Linked DNA regions of Homo sapiens: region 1 is linked to region 2. Evidence: promoter capture Hi-C in 16 types of primary human blood cells and fetal thymus (Javierre and others, 2016). All regions are on one chromosome and are shown on one strand. The core of a region is centred on a gene start or on the middle of the fragment in contact, and the rest is flanking DNA. Distances in the headings are between cores, read along the strand shown.

Region 1 (7,222 bases), core at 4,561-7,060, 71 kb before region 2:
GTAGCTACAAAACTTCAATCTCTGCCTTCATCAAGACATGATATTCTCCCTCACGTGTCTGTGTCTCTGTGTCTTTACTTTTCTTTTTTTTTCTTTTTGTGGAGAAGGAGTCTCACTCTGTTGCTCAGGCTGGAGTGCAGTGGCGTGATCTCAGCTCACTGCAACCTCCGCCTCCCGGGTTCAAGTGATTCTTCTGCCTCAGCCTCCCAGGTAGCTGGGATTACAGGCACCCACGACCATGCCTGGCTAATTTTTGTATTTTTAGTATGCATGGGGTTTCACAGGTTGGCCAGGCTGGTCTTGAACTCCTGACCTCAAGTGATCTGCCTGCCTTGGTCTCCCAAAGTGCTGGGATTATAGGCATGAGCCACCGTGCCTGGCCTACTCTTCTTATAAGGATGCCCGTCCTATAGGATTAATTAAGGGCCCGCTGTACTCTAGTATGACCTTTTCTTAACTAATTACAGCTGCAATTATCCCATTTCCAAATAAGTTCACATTCGAAGGTACCGGGGGGTGGGACTTTAACATATCTTTCCCATTTTGGCTCCTCTTGGCTGTGATAGTTTCTTAGAATGTCCCCGTTTTTGATGACCTTAACAGTTTTGATGAGGGTTGGTCAGGTACTTGGTAGAATGTCCCTCAGTTGGGATTTACCTGATGTGTTTCTCATGATTAGCCTGGGGTTATGGGATTTGGAGGGAAGAACACAGAGGTACAAAGCCATTTTCATCATGGCACACAAAGTCACATAGCATCCATGTGACTTAACACTTTTGTATTAACCTTGATTACCCGGCTGAGGTAGTGTTTATCAGGCTTCTGCACAGCAGAATGATTGTGTCCTGCCCCACCTTTTATACTATATTCTTTGGAAAGAAATCACTATGTGCTGCCAACACTTAAGGGATGGGGACTCATGCTGCATCTCTGGAGGGATGCACGATTTTGCATTTTTTCAAGGGGAGATTGGTCTATTCTTCCAGTTGATTTATTTGTTCAATAATTTAGTCACATAAGTATGTACTCATGAATATTTATTTTATACTTTGGGTTATTATCCAATGCTATGTTGCTTTGTTGCTCAACATTCCAGCTTTGGCCAGTGGAAGCTCTTTCATTTGGCTCCTGTGTCCCTTTGACATATCCTCAGCGTTTCTTCACTTTCTGGGACTGCAAGATGCTCCAGTCTCAGCTTGTGTGTTTCTTGCCCCAATCCCGGAATCAGTCATTTCTTCAAAGAGCCTGTGTTCCTTTTATCGGATGATGATATTTTAGAAACCAAGACCTGTGTACTAAGAGTGCTCATTGTTGCTGGGGTATTTGTGCTCCTAAGTCGGCCCACATTTTACACTTCACTGCACTCCAGGTTGCTCACCTGTAAAAGGGGGATAAGTATAGTCCTTTCATGAATTTTCTTGTGAAAATTAAATTAGAGAATGTGTATAACAAGCAGATAGTAAGTACTCAAAAATGTTAGTGGTGATTATTTCCCATATAACCTTTTACATTTGAGTGAACTTATAATTTTCTAAGTTCTTTCCTATCTGCTAATTCATCAGATTCAACAGCCTCAGGAGAGAGGTTATTCTAGCGGTGTAGAGATGGGAAAATTAAATAAATAAGGGAGTCAACCTACGCTGCACTAGAATTCAAGTCTTTTGATTTTGAGACTTATTCTAGACCAAGATTGGTTTCCACCTCTGTCATATGAGTGGTCTACATTCCCCTCCCTGACTCTTGCCCAACTCTAGCTTGAAGGGCTTCTTGGTGGTGGTGTTTCTTTGATTCTTGTTCTCCATTGAGTAAGATTAACTCAAGGCAGAAAGAAGGCATGTACTCCAATCCAGAACAGGCCACTCATAGACATGGCACCATATTTTCTAAACCAAACACTGAACATATGATTCAAATTTATTAAATGCCACTGATAATAGTAAATTTAATAAATGAGTGGCATTTAATAATTGTAATGTGGATGCAGAAACATTGACATTCTGGGATATTTTGATAATTTACAGGAATAATAGGACAGGTATTTAAACAGAACTGACCCAAAAACCTAAGACATGCTTTTGTATCTACAACAATCTTCCCATCATAGTCTCTCTCCCTTCATGGTACAGTGATCCTACACGAATACAACAAAATGTTGGTAAATGAAAGCAACTCACTATAATCATCAGTGCATAAAAGACATACAAACAAACAGGGAGCTTTGACTCAATGCAGATGTTTATTAGAACTAATGTTTGTTTTTTCATACGAGCAACAGCTTCTGTTGTTAATAAAATCCGGGCATGATTATTATTGCTAACAGCAGCACTCATGGTATGAAATTATAGCTTCAGTTATACAAACTGTATTCTAGAGAGGTGGGTTTTGGTTGCACAAAGAGGAGACCTTTTAAAGAGGCAGCACATTTAAAACATTTTCTTACTTATTTTTTTAAATTAATATTCACAATCAGTGATTCAAAAAGCAGCAATTTTAAAGTTGAATGAGCTGCAATTGGGGGTAGTGAGTTTCTCATCAGTAGAAATGCTCAAGAATGAGGTCGCGAAGTTAGACAAGGTTGTTGTCCTCACAGATACTCCAGCCCTCTGCTTCTATGGCTCTGTGAGAGATCTGGGTTTCTTGGACCTTAGCAGCAGTGCAGGAGCTGGCACAGCTAATAAGTGCTTGTAGGTCACGGGGAAGCCTGGGTTCCATGGCCTATTTAGACATTTTCTCAGGATAAGGATGAAATTGCAATTGGAGAAATAAACAGAATAAGCTGGGTCCAGCCAGAAGTCAGTATTTGTGCACAAACCTTGAGGCCATTTCAAGTCCTGTTTAGAATTCTAACTTTAAGGAGAAAAGCTCTTTTTGGTGTTGGTTCTGATCCCAGAAAAAGAGTCCACTGGACATGTGTTTTTGTGGGAGGAGCTGGTATAATAAAGGACATCTTGAGTGGACATTTACTATTGTTCTCCCTCCATGTGGAAGGCCTCCTCCGTCTTACCTGTGGACAAGGCTCTGGTCCAGTCACCTCTTCTGGGAAGCCTTCTTGATTGATATCTCCTCCCCCAAAACCTTCATACCAGAATGGTCTTTCTTTTACCTCCATGACTTTCCAAAGCAGCACTTGGCAGGGTTTGTTCTATTACATGGTAGTCAATTACATATGTTTCATGTCTCCCAATAGGAGCTCCTAGAAGGTATAAATGATACTCTCTTCATCTAGGTAGTTCCCACAGGAGCCACCACAGCCTGGGATGTTGGGGTGTGCCCAGGCAGTGCTTGAAATGGGAAGATATGGTGTCTTGGGATGCCTTGGGATGATTCCAAAACAGCATTACAGTTCTTCTTTGGCATTGAAAATGGAGTTTCTGCTAGCTTGACAAGTGTCTGATGGAGCTGGGTCCCATTGCCACCTTCCCCTTACAGAATAAACAGCAGGGCACAAAGAGGTAGAATGACTTGTTTATAGAACCAGAGGCAGGCTGTGAATTGCTGTCCCTGAGTATTCAGCCTGGGGCTTAATATATATATATATATGTTCTCATTCTCCATTATCTTCCTCTTTTTTTTCAAGAGACCTGGAATTACTCCAACAGCTGCATACAGGTCAAGAGTTAAAGTCCCCCAGGGAAGATCAATTTCTATAAAACAGAAGACAGGAACTTGGAGCTTCTGATCCCTTGGAGGGCTTATATCTTGGAGCTCTGGAGGGCATAAAGTCTCTAGAAGCTTCCTGAGAGAGGATGGGAGAGGCATTTTGCTTGGAAAACACTTATGGCCTTGCAAGATGAGGGAGTTCAGGGTGAGGCTCAGGGGTGAGGAGTCGGGGAACGGCTGCTTGGGGTCAGCTGTGGACATAGGAAGGAAGAGTATAGGGGCCTGGGGTACAAACTACCAGGGCCCACCTCATGCAGCCCAGTTTCCCAAGAAGGGAAGGAGGCCAGGGCCCAGAGCAGATGCTCTGCTTAGGAATAAGGAAGGATCCTTTGGCTCACACTTTGCCTGTCCCATGTCCTTGGGAACCCACCCGTAGTGGAAAGGGGTGGGTATTTCAGGAGCAGCAGCAGCAGCATTTTGTCTGCATCAAAGTTCCTTTGAACCGATTGTAATTTTTGCCTTTTGGTTACATTGGCTTTACCTCATCTTATCAGGGGGAAAATGGCTTCATTGTATCTTAGATCGTCAGAGCTTTGAGGACCCTTTGAGATGAGGGAGGAGGACTTGCATAGGGTCATACAGGGGGCTAAGGGCAGAGCTAGTTCTAGAACCAGGTGTCTGCCTTCCCAAACCACAATCCCCAGGCTCCCTCCTGTCCCTGCTTCTCTCAGGCCCTCCCGCAATCTGTCATCTAGTGCATGTTCCTAGTTACATTTGCTAGGGGACATACCACAGGACTCAGAACCTTGTCTGTTTTACTTTTTTAGGGATGAGGGTGAAGATTGATGTTGGGCAAGTTGCACGGTGGCAAAAAAGCATACAGCATTTAAGGGCAGATGGAGATGGTCAAGGTTGAGGGGAGAGGTGTGTCACTGATCAATGCTAAGACCCAGGCAGGGGTTTGTAAGAGAGCTTCGTCTGCCTGGTAGACACATCGACCTTCTGCTAAGGTGCATTTATTGAAAACAGTGTATGCTATGCACTCTGTTAAGTGCTATGCATCTATTAGTTAATCTTTTCCTCATCAGACTTTTACGAGGTAGGTAAGGTATAGCATTTCCATCTTATGAAGAAACTGAAGTTCGAAGAGATGAAGTCACCTGCCCAGCACTGCAAACTAGTAAGTGATAGAGCCTGGATTCGGCCTGTGTTCTGACCACTCTCTTGCTCCATCTCTTTAAAGAGAGTGAAAAGGGGGTGAAGATACCTGCTCTATTGCCCAGTAATGGATAGGCCGAAGGAGGGGGGATGGGAGGAAGGAAAGGAGAAATGGCTGCTTTCATCGGAGGATCGTCCTCTGCTACTGACTGCCCACAGCTGGTGGTGCTGGGGCTGAGGAGCCAAATTCAGTTCCTCACTCCGGTGACCCTCTGGATCCAGTCCTTGTTGTGGTGGATGTAAGAGTATACTCCGTAGCGGTCCTTCTTCCCACAGTCATCACCCCAGGACACAGTGCCCACCAGGTACCACTGGCCTCTTTCTCTATTCAGGGTCACCATGGGGCCTCCAGAGTCACCCGCACAGGCGTCCTTTCCCCCTAGGTGAAAAAGAGACATAGATGAAGATAAAATGCCCCTTCCCAGCCCAAGTCTCCTTCTCCCATGTATGGGTTGTAGTTCAGAGAATTGGGCACTAGAGGGCATAGCAGACCGTTGGACCCAAACCTCAGCTCTGGGCAGTTCTAGGTCAGGCCGCATCAGAGCTCAAATGATTCTAAAAAGCCCTGATTCAGACCTCTTTCTTTCTTTTCTTTTCTTTTTCTTTTTTCTTTCTTTTTTTTTTTTTTTTTGAGATGGAGTCTCGCTCTGTCACACCCAGGCTAGAGTGCAGTGGCACGATCTCGGCTCACAGCAACCTCTACCTCCTGGGTTCAAGTGATTCTCCCTCCTCAGCCTCCCGAGTAGCTGGGACTACAGGCACCTGCCACCATGCCCGGCTAATTTTTGTATTTTTAGTAAAGATGGGATTTCGCCATGTTAGCAAGACTGGTCTCGAACTCCCGACCTCAGGTGATCCACCCGCCTCGGCCTCCCAAAGTGCTGGGATTACAGGCATGAACCACCGTGCCCGGCCAAGGCCTCTTTCTTAAGGGAAACACTGAACTTGGGAAGGGAATGATGAGCATCCTGTAAATATCTTTTCTCCGATGCATCTTCTCCTGTGGAATCCCTCCTCCCACGGCCTTCCTCCAGTCCCCCGCGCCCCCACACTGCCAGCCCACCAGGTTGGGAGGCCTCTGTGCTCCCTTGCTGGCTCTGCACCACTCCCTGGCTGGCAGCGCCCCTGTTGTATGCCAGCCTCTTAACCCACCTTCCTTCTCCCCAGCACAGATCATGTCCCTGGTCACTTTCTTCTTCAGCGGGGCATAAGCCTTCTGGCAGGTGCTGTGGTCAACAATCGGGATTTCAATCTAGAACACAAAGCTGTTATTGGTCCTCATCCCCGGCTGAGAAGCCTCTGCTATTCTGACACCCCTGAAGACGGCTCCTCTCCACTCCATACCTGGACGGACCTGTGTCTACCTTAGACTTGATCTAAGAGACTGCCCCATGCTACAGGTGAAGGAACAGTTGAATGGAGAATCAGGAGGCCCGTGTTCTAGGGCAGTCTTGGCTGTGAAGACCTTGGCTGTGTGAACTTGGGCAAGTCACATGCCCTCTCTGGGCCTCAGATCTCTCTTCAGTAAGATAGAGGTAATAATACTTGCCTAGGAGATGTATTAGTCAATAGGACAATGTATACAAAAATGAAGTTTGGTTTTCTTTTGTCTCACCCCTACTGTAGGACCTAGAACATGTGGCTTACTCATTGTTTTTCAGACTCTGAGACCCTTTTTCCTCATCTGAAAAATGGAGGTTGCAGTATTTGATATACTAATCATTGTACAAAGAGGAGAGGCAGGAACAAGTGCTTTGTAAACTACACACACTGTATAAATATTAGCTACTGTGGAGTTATCACTGCTGGCTTTGCAGCAAGCACTTTGTTATGTTGTCCTCCCTCTCTACAGTATGAGCATCTGTCTCGATGCTGGATCTGTATTTTATGCATTTCTATCTTACATTGCTTGGAGCTTAGTAGATACCCAGAAAATATATATATTTTTTGCAATGCAGCAAAATCGATACATAAAAATAAGGCATTGTGACTATTATTGCCCTTGATCCAGTGTGGGGGTAACTGTTGGAGTAGATGTCTGGAATAAAAAGAGGAAACATATGATTCTCTTTCAGTCAAATCAAGAACTGAATGGGCCATATTCTCTAAATGGACAACTCCTGTTGCCCTTGCTGGGAGGAAACCAGAGGCCATTCAGATCCCTCTTGGGTCATGGCCTTCCCTGGATAAGGGGAGAGGAAGCCAGGGCAGGGTGGTCCTGAGGACAGATCCTCAGCAACTGCTGAGCACCTGATTCATCGTTCAGGTATCATTTCAGCATCACTTCCTTTGGGAATGCCTCCTGAACCCCTGAGACAAGATCAGATTCTCTTTCATATGTTCTGGAGCATCCTGCATTTCTCTCTCTCCACCTTTATCACATCCATAACTACTTTCTGTCCAT
Region 2 (7,650 bases), core at 2,683-5,182:
GTTTCTCTCCAATACCCAGTCTGCCCATGTATTCAGATGCATATATCTGTGTAATGCATACATTTGAGTTTTTGGGTATGTAAACAGAGCAAGTTAACTACATACATAGATTATGTAGCTATGTCATGTTAATATTTACATAAAGTGTAAATAGGTAAGTACAAAATGTCTGAAAGGATATACACCAAGGTATTGACAGTAGTTATCTCTGAAATGGGAATATAAGTATTTCCATTTTTGTGCATATAAAATGTTTACATTTGTCAAGAAGGACCATGTACTATTTTTTCAATAAAAAGAAAATACATTTATTTAATTTTTTTCAAGGTCCCTACAATAGCAATATGTGAGATTCTATTAAGAAAACAAAATGTCTTAATCCCATAGCCAATGTCAATATTTTCTTAAACCAATCTGTGGAAGGAGGGCCTCAGAGGCAGAAGGAAGGGAAGGCATATGTCCAAGTTAACCTGTGAATTAGTTGGAAAGCTGAGTCAAAAAACCAGGTGGCAGGGCCCAGGCATCCCATTTTCAAGTGAGGAAATGAACCAGTGTTAACAGGGCTGGGAGTTCAGGTTCAGCCCTGCTGAGGAGGGGAGGGCACTGGCCCTGGGTCAAAAGAGCTAGATTCAGCTCCAGCTTTGACTTTATTTATCCTTTCCATTTTAGGAGGTCATGGGAGGTCTTGTTTCCTCATCCATTAAGTAGTAATAATAACGACTTCCCACAGCACTGCTATCAGCGTAAAGGAGGATGGGGAAGTATTTTGTTAACTGTCCAGCCCTAGCCAAACATTAGTTATAATTATTCCATCCTGCCAGTTCCCAAAAAGCAAGAGTCAGGAATGAGCTTTGGCTCCTAAACCGGACTTCCCTATAATAGCGACACCCAAATTATGCAAGGCCGAAAGGTCAACTTCCTCCATGACTGCTTTTTCCAGACCACATCGAGGAGACACTGAGCCTCCTGAGGCCGGTTCTGTCAAGGACTGGCAGCAGACAGCCCTGTGTAGCCCAGAAGCCCGGTGCCATGTGTGGTAGGCAACTGGTCAGCGTGGGAGGAAGGCCCAGGAAGCTTTCCCTTCTACTTTGTTTGCATCTCAAAACGGTTTCAAACATATGAAACAAATATCTCCCTTCATGTAATGGGCTTGAGCATATGCTTGCCTGCTTGCGTTAGGGGCTGTAAATTGAAGAATATAAGTGGCAGCTTTCATTCCTCGTCACACTCTCTGAATGTTTTTGGCTTCTTGTATACGAGGCACCGGCTGTATAGTTCCCAACACCTGCTATCTATCCTCCGGCTAATCAAAAAGTTTAGCTACATTGCAGAAATGTCAAAAGTAATATATAGAGCTGAGATTTCAGAGGCCCCCCGTAGGAACAGGCTAGCAGGACTCTGTAAAAATGCCTGCATATATCTATGATTGCGGCATGAACGGCACTTGCTATCTTTTCCATACACTGTCCGTACACGCCCCTTGTTTCAACCCACTCCACACCAAGACTCCATTTTTGAATTGAAGAGTTGGAAGGGACTGCATGGATCCTTTACAGAGCACCCTAATTTGACAGACGATGAAAAGGATACCCCAAGAGATGTCACATCATGCTCAATACCATATGGTGAATTAACTTCAACAGAAGAAGGGAATAAAAAGAGCTCACAGAAGAAGCTGGGTCCATGCCCATATCATGCCCAGGCATCTGGCCAAAGCAATTAATCCTGTGAAAAATAATTGAAAAACCCATGGCTTTACGTAAAAAATTTAAAAATATTAATGCCAAAGTCCCTCCTCAGGAGGTTCTGGTTTAATTGCTCTGGGGTGAGGCCTGAGCACTGGCATGTTTCAAGGCAGCACAGATCATTCCGACGTACAGTCAGAATTATGAGCCGTCAGTTTAGAATAATACACTTGGCTGAAAGTCTAGTGGAATATAGTAGAAAAAATCCTGAACTTGGAGCCCGAAGACCCAAATTTGAATCTGGACCTTTTCATGATCATCAGTGTGGTTTGGGCAAGTTGCTTAACTGCTTTTATACCCACTACTTATCCATAAATCCTTACTTCATCCAGAATCTGAAACCCCCATGAGACAGTGCTCTTGAAAGTGCTCTGCAAACACTGAAATACTGTATCCATGTGAGACAAGACCTGCTGGAGACTTTTCTAGCAGAGCACCTTTCTCGTAGTTGCTTGGCTATTCAAAAATTGAATTCAATTCAACAAATAGGTATTGAATGGCTGGTAGGAAATAGACATTATGCTAGGTGCTGGCCATACAAAGATGAAGACATAGATCATGTAACTTAAGGAGTGCTGAGACTTGTAAGGGGAGGTGGACATTTAAACAAGGGGATACTACAAGGACAATAAGAGATGCAGCTTCAAGGGACAGAAACAGAACAAAGGACAAAGGAGGGGATGCTCACTCTGGAATATGGTGGTCAGGAGAGAGAAAGAGATATTTGTGCCAGCTTGAACAATCAGGTCTTCTAGGTGGAAAATAAAGAAGAAGGTTGCTCCAGGTTGAGGGATGAGCATATGCAAAGATACAGAATTGTTACTCAGCCAAGTAGTTTGATATGGGCTGGGGCACTGAATGGTAGGGTGGGATTCAGACCAGATCATTGACAGATAAATGAGATTATCATTCAATGTAGATTGACATAAATCACTTTTTTTTGGAGAAAGAAAAATGATGTTTAATGGCAGGTTTAAAATTACTATGGCTTTAAGAAGAACAGAATTATTGCACTCACTTTTTAAGGACCTGGTTATCTCTCTGAACCACAGGTAATCGGAGTTCAAAGAGTTAACATAGTCTGAAGCCTCTCATTGGTCTCAGGTCCAGAAAAGTTGCTAGGTTACTTTGCAGAAGAGAAACAAATAAAAACACTTTCCCAAGTGAAAAGAAAATTAATAGTAAAAGATGTGTTTAGGGACTTACACATCTGCAGAGCATTGTGTGTGTGTGTGTGTGTGTGTGTGTGTGTAACAGCATTAACACTTAACTAATAAAAATAACTAGGGTGGTTGGGTTTTCAGACTTGCAGGATAGAACTTGTATGAAAGGTCTGGTAAGGAGTGTCAAGTATAATGAGGAATAAGAAAGGTTAAAGAGTTTAAAACCAATTAGAATTTGAAGTTCTTGATTTCAGAACTCTAAAATCCTTTTTTTTTTTTTAAGTATGATATCTCTTTAAGAGCCATTTGGTGTACTTCATAGCCTGATTCATGCCACCAGCTGCCTCTGATTTCAATGAGAAATGCAGAAAATTTATAGGGAACTGTAAAATGGGGACAGATTTTTAGTTTTCTAAATTGAGGTTTAACTGGCAAACTTGTAAAGGTTGAAGAAACCACAGAGCCAAGCTATGGGAAGCTGGTTTCTTTTCTGGTCAGAAGGAATGAACACACAAACACATATCTAACTCACAAAGTGCTGGAAGAGAGAAAGCAATGCTCTTTCCAGAGGAGGAACACGGAAAAATCAGCCTTGTGGGTGAACAGGAGGAGAGTCACATTCGCCAGCAGGCAGCACCCTGTGCAGGCAGTGGGAGAAATCTGAGCTTCAGCAGCGTCCGGAGCAGGATTTGCACGAAGTCTCCCGTTTCAAGTTTTATGTCTCCTGGAGTCCTGGGGAAGGCACCCAGCCCACCCACAGCTCCCTTCTCAGAGCCCTAAGAATTGATGAGAAAGCCCCTCACTACCACATGCAGGACACGCAGGTGAGTCTGTCAGTGACAAGGTCAGACCTTCCCTGCTATTTGACACTGGTCCCCAAAAGGGAACCGTGCCCTCTCCTCCCCTGGCACGTACCTCATTTTCCTGCCTTGGGTGCTCCCGGCTGCCCGGCCTTGGTCCTCCCAGCTTGACTTGCCTGTGAGCTCGTGCCCGGTGTGGTGTCCGTGATGCCTTATCTTTGTTCTGAGGTCCCTGTGTGTCTCTGGAATTGGCTGGCATTCTCCATTCAGGTCACGCCTTCCCCTGCCTGCAACAGATCCCCTCTCCCCCTCTCTCCCTCTGGCTTTTCCTCTCTCCTCTCTCTCTCCTTTGACTTGCTCTTGCACTCCCAGGAACCTGACAACAAAATCTGTCTTCCTACCGAAAAGATCTGCTCCTTCCCTTCCCTCCTTTATCCTGTGTGGCTGACTTCAGCCCTTGAGAGAAAATAACTGAGGGGCTCAAGCAGGTATTTGTATCACTCTGTGTGTGTGTGTGTGTGTGTGTGTGTGTGTGTAGAGAGAGAGAGAGAGAGAGAGTGAAAGGGGACAAAGTCTAATTTCTCTTTAGTCTTTTTTGCCAGATGACTATAATTTTCTGCTTTTCTTCAGGACACCCATGAAAGAAAAGCAATTAAATAGAAACAACCAACTAAGAAGGCAATTCTAGCACCTACACTAGAAGAAAAAAAAAAGGTCTAAATCCCAGAGCGTCTGTCTGCAAATAACTACAGGTTTCCTTGTGAGCAGAGCCCCAAATAACTACAGGTTTTCTCGTGATCAGAGTCACACACAACGACAGGTTTTCCTGTGAACAGAGCCACGGGCCCGGAACTGGGGAAGCACCAAGTCCTGAAGTTGGCTGGTTGTTCCTCCCCATGAGCAATACCTGTGGCACTGTTTACTTGCTCGGAGTGTGTGCGGCTCTACTCCAGCCCAGAAAGGGCCCATCGCAGCAAGAAATCTCACCTCCCCAGGGGTGTAGAAAGACCTGGGCCTGTATATATGTCTATACCCATGGCTTCCGGAGAAATCAACACTAGATCTAAGATGAGCTGAATAATAAGAAAATTACCCCCTCCACAACAACAACAACCAACACTGAATAGGGAGAGGTGTATCTGGGTGTAAAAGTTAAGTTTGACTGTGCACCTTTTCTGTGTTAGACACAGTACTAGTCATTAACATCATCTCAAGTTACTTTTGCAAACTGGTGAAAGTGCTGCTGTTATACTCATTTTACAAGTGAGGACACTAAGGCTCAGAGAGAATATGCCACTTGCCAAGATCATCCAGTTATTTATGACTCCCCACTGCCACTAGCACTAGAAGCTAACAGCTATTGAGTGCTACGTGTCAGGCACTGCTCTAAGCACTTAATATATGAATTCTTTTCAGTCATCTTTATATGTTGTATACATGGCTGGCAATATTCTCATTTTTCAGAGGAAATTGCCCAGAGAGGTTAAGTAACTTTCCCAAGTTCACACAGCTAGAAAGTAATAGAGGCAGAATTTGAAGTGTTAGCCACTGTATTACACTGCTACTCATTAACATTTTATAATGCATATGGAATTTCAAATGCACACACACAGACGGCATTCATAGAGAAACTCAATCTGAGTCATTTTGAAAAGAAGATTAGACTCAGAGTTTAGCTGTAATCTTTCCTTTCTACCCAAGACAGCTGTGTACTTTGGGCACAATACTTAAGGTATCTGATTCTGTGTCTTCATTTGGAAAATGGGAGTTACTATGAGGCTTAAATAAGACTGTGCTTGTAGAAGTGTCCAGGGGAGTACCAGAGAGAGGGCTGCCAGCCACACTCACCAAAGCGGCAGACACATGCACTGTCTACCCTCAGATAACGTTCCTTTGGCACGTTCTGGGGAACAGTGGCTTGACTCTCACTGTACTTCTTACTCCATTTTCTCTCCAGTTTCTCTAATTTTCACACTTTTGAATGCCAGCCTTGCCAAGCTTGGCATTATCAAGAGGCTGTGGTTGATAAAGCAGGTACAAGTATATGAGATGGGAGGATATGTTTGAACTCAGGCACTGTTTTAGCAAAATGTGTTCTGTCTCAGTCAGCACAGGAAAAAAAGCTTTTAACATTCCCGTTAAGAAGACTCACAGGCTCCGCACACATTAAATAACTCTCACAAAACAACATTTTAATGATTTACGTGTAAATGAATCAGAAACACATGGACGACATTTCTCTTGGAATACACAAGGGTTTTAAAACTGAAGGAGAAAGAGCTTGGCAAAATGCACACTGTGCTGGGAAGAGGGCCCCTGCCCAGTAAAGACATTCCCTCAATTCATGCTGCCACGGAGTTTGCCCTCTCCTAATTTAGGGCATATACTGGGAACTGCAGTCATTTGTTCTGGGTACAGAGGGAAGAGCTTGGGCGAGAAAGCCATCAGCTTCTCCTTGGAAAGTGTCACAGAGCAATTAGGCCTCCTGGAATAATTTTCTAGCCATGTTTCTTCAAGGCTGCCAATGTTCAATGGAAAGCATTCGAGATGTGTTCTAAGCCAAAGTTCTGCCAATATATAGCAGATCTGATATGTGCGCTTCCCTGGGAGTTAGCCAAGGCTCAGAGGAAATCTGCATAAAAACAGGAACTACGTGGCCCAGGAATGATCTGCATGTGATTCAGGACAGTTTTCTACTTGGTTACACTACATATTGTCTGATGCTTTTGATGAATCTCCCTGAAGTGTCACTAAGAGATCATGGGTCATCAGGGGTGGGAGGAATGGAAGGGACATTAGGCTGGAAACAGAACTGGGCTCAGTGACTATAGGCCAGCTTGCATGTGACCTTGGGTAAGTCACTTACTTTCTCAGGGGTGGGGGTTGAGGGGTGGAGGGGTGGGGCATCAGTGTGTTCAATTATGAAATCAGGGGGTGGGACTCAGTTGAGATCATAGATATCAACATGTGGATATGAAGACTATGAAATGATGTCGTTGGGAGGGGGTTAGGTAGTTTGCTAGACCTAAAAGATTGTCAAGGAGTCCAAAATAGCTCTAATAATCTTGACATTGGCTTTTTCTGTGCTCATAATATTACTGATACTAAGAATTTAATCACAGATATTCAGAAAAAGTAATATTTAAAAAGGTTCAACTAGTTTTTTGAGTTTGGCAAAAGCGATTAAAAAATGCATACAAGGAACTGACATCATTTAGAATCATGAAAGCGTAGAATGACTGAGGTGGGCTCAGCACCCGCGCACTATAGTCCTGTAGTCCGGGAAAGGGATCAGAGAGCTGCCTACTAAGGGTAAATGCGGCAATATTCCTACCACTGGAAGAGGTTTTGGTTTACATGTTCTACCAAAGTATTTATTTTATGCAACTTTTGAGCTAGAGCTTCTGGAATTCAATGAATGGGTTAGAAAACGTAAAGAATTTGGGCAATGACTTTTTGTTGGTAAGGGCTGAAATCCAGGCTTCCTACAGAATATTTGAGAAACTGATAAATAGCTCCAAAGATGGCAGCTTAGAATGAAAATCTGGGTTCTTCAGCACATTGACTGACAGCATGCCGAAAGTCCTGGCTTCTGAGTCTATCAACAGAATAATGGGGAAAATATTTTTAAAAAATGACAATCTTTGAGCTTCATCCCAGGAGATTCAAACCCAATGAATCTGTGGGTAAGTCTCCTGAATCTGTAATTTGAAAATCTCCCCTGGCATGATTTTGCCACTTTTGGTACAAATAACATAATGATACATTTTATAATTGATGGCACCTTTGATTTGATAAGATGTCATTTGTATATGCCAGATACTTTTATATATATTATTGCATATAGTATTCACATCTTTTTTTACAAGTAAAGACATTGAGGTTCAGAGAAACTAAGCCTGCCCGTGCCTGTAAGTGAATGATGTATGTCTAGAGCCCAGG

Evidence for each region. The method cuts DNA at HindIII sites, captures the fragments that hold promoters and counts their contacts. A CHiCAGO score of 5 or more calls a contact.
Region 1: a fragment that was not itself captured here is called in contact with the fragment with the promoter of MASP1 in region 2 in 1 of 17 cell types (megakaryocytes); the score reaches 5.9 in megakaryocytes.

Annotation. Positions count from the first base shown.
Region 1 is chr3:187,215,065-187,222,286 of GRCh38, forward strand. It overlaps a transcript of MASP1 not described here. Among named protein-coding and RNA genes, the nearest start is that of RTP1, 21 kb to the left of the region's middle. The HindIII fragment of the contact is 4,160 bases long and covers 3,731-7,222 here.
Region 2 is chr3:187,287,805-187,295,454 of GRCh38, forward strand. MASP1 (MBL associated serine protease 1) reads right to left here and starts at 3,933. Exons shown (of 11, transcript NM_139125.4): 1 at 3,824-3,933. The coding sequence starts at 3,828. It overlaps LOC101929130 (a long non-coding RNA gene), which reads left to right and starts at 3,468. Exons shown (of 2, transcript NR_135551.1): 1 at 3,468-3,732. The HindIII fragment of the contact is 4,632 bases long and covers 1,073-5,704 here.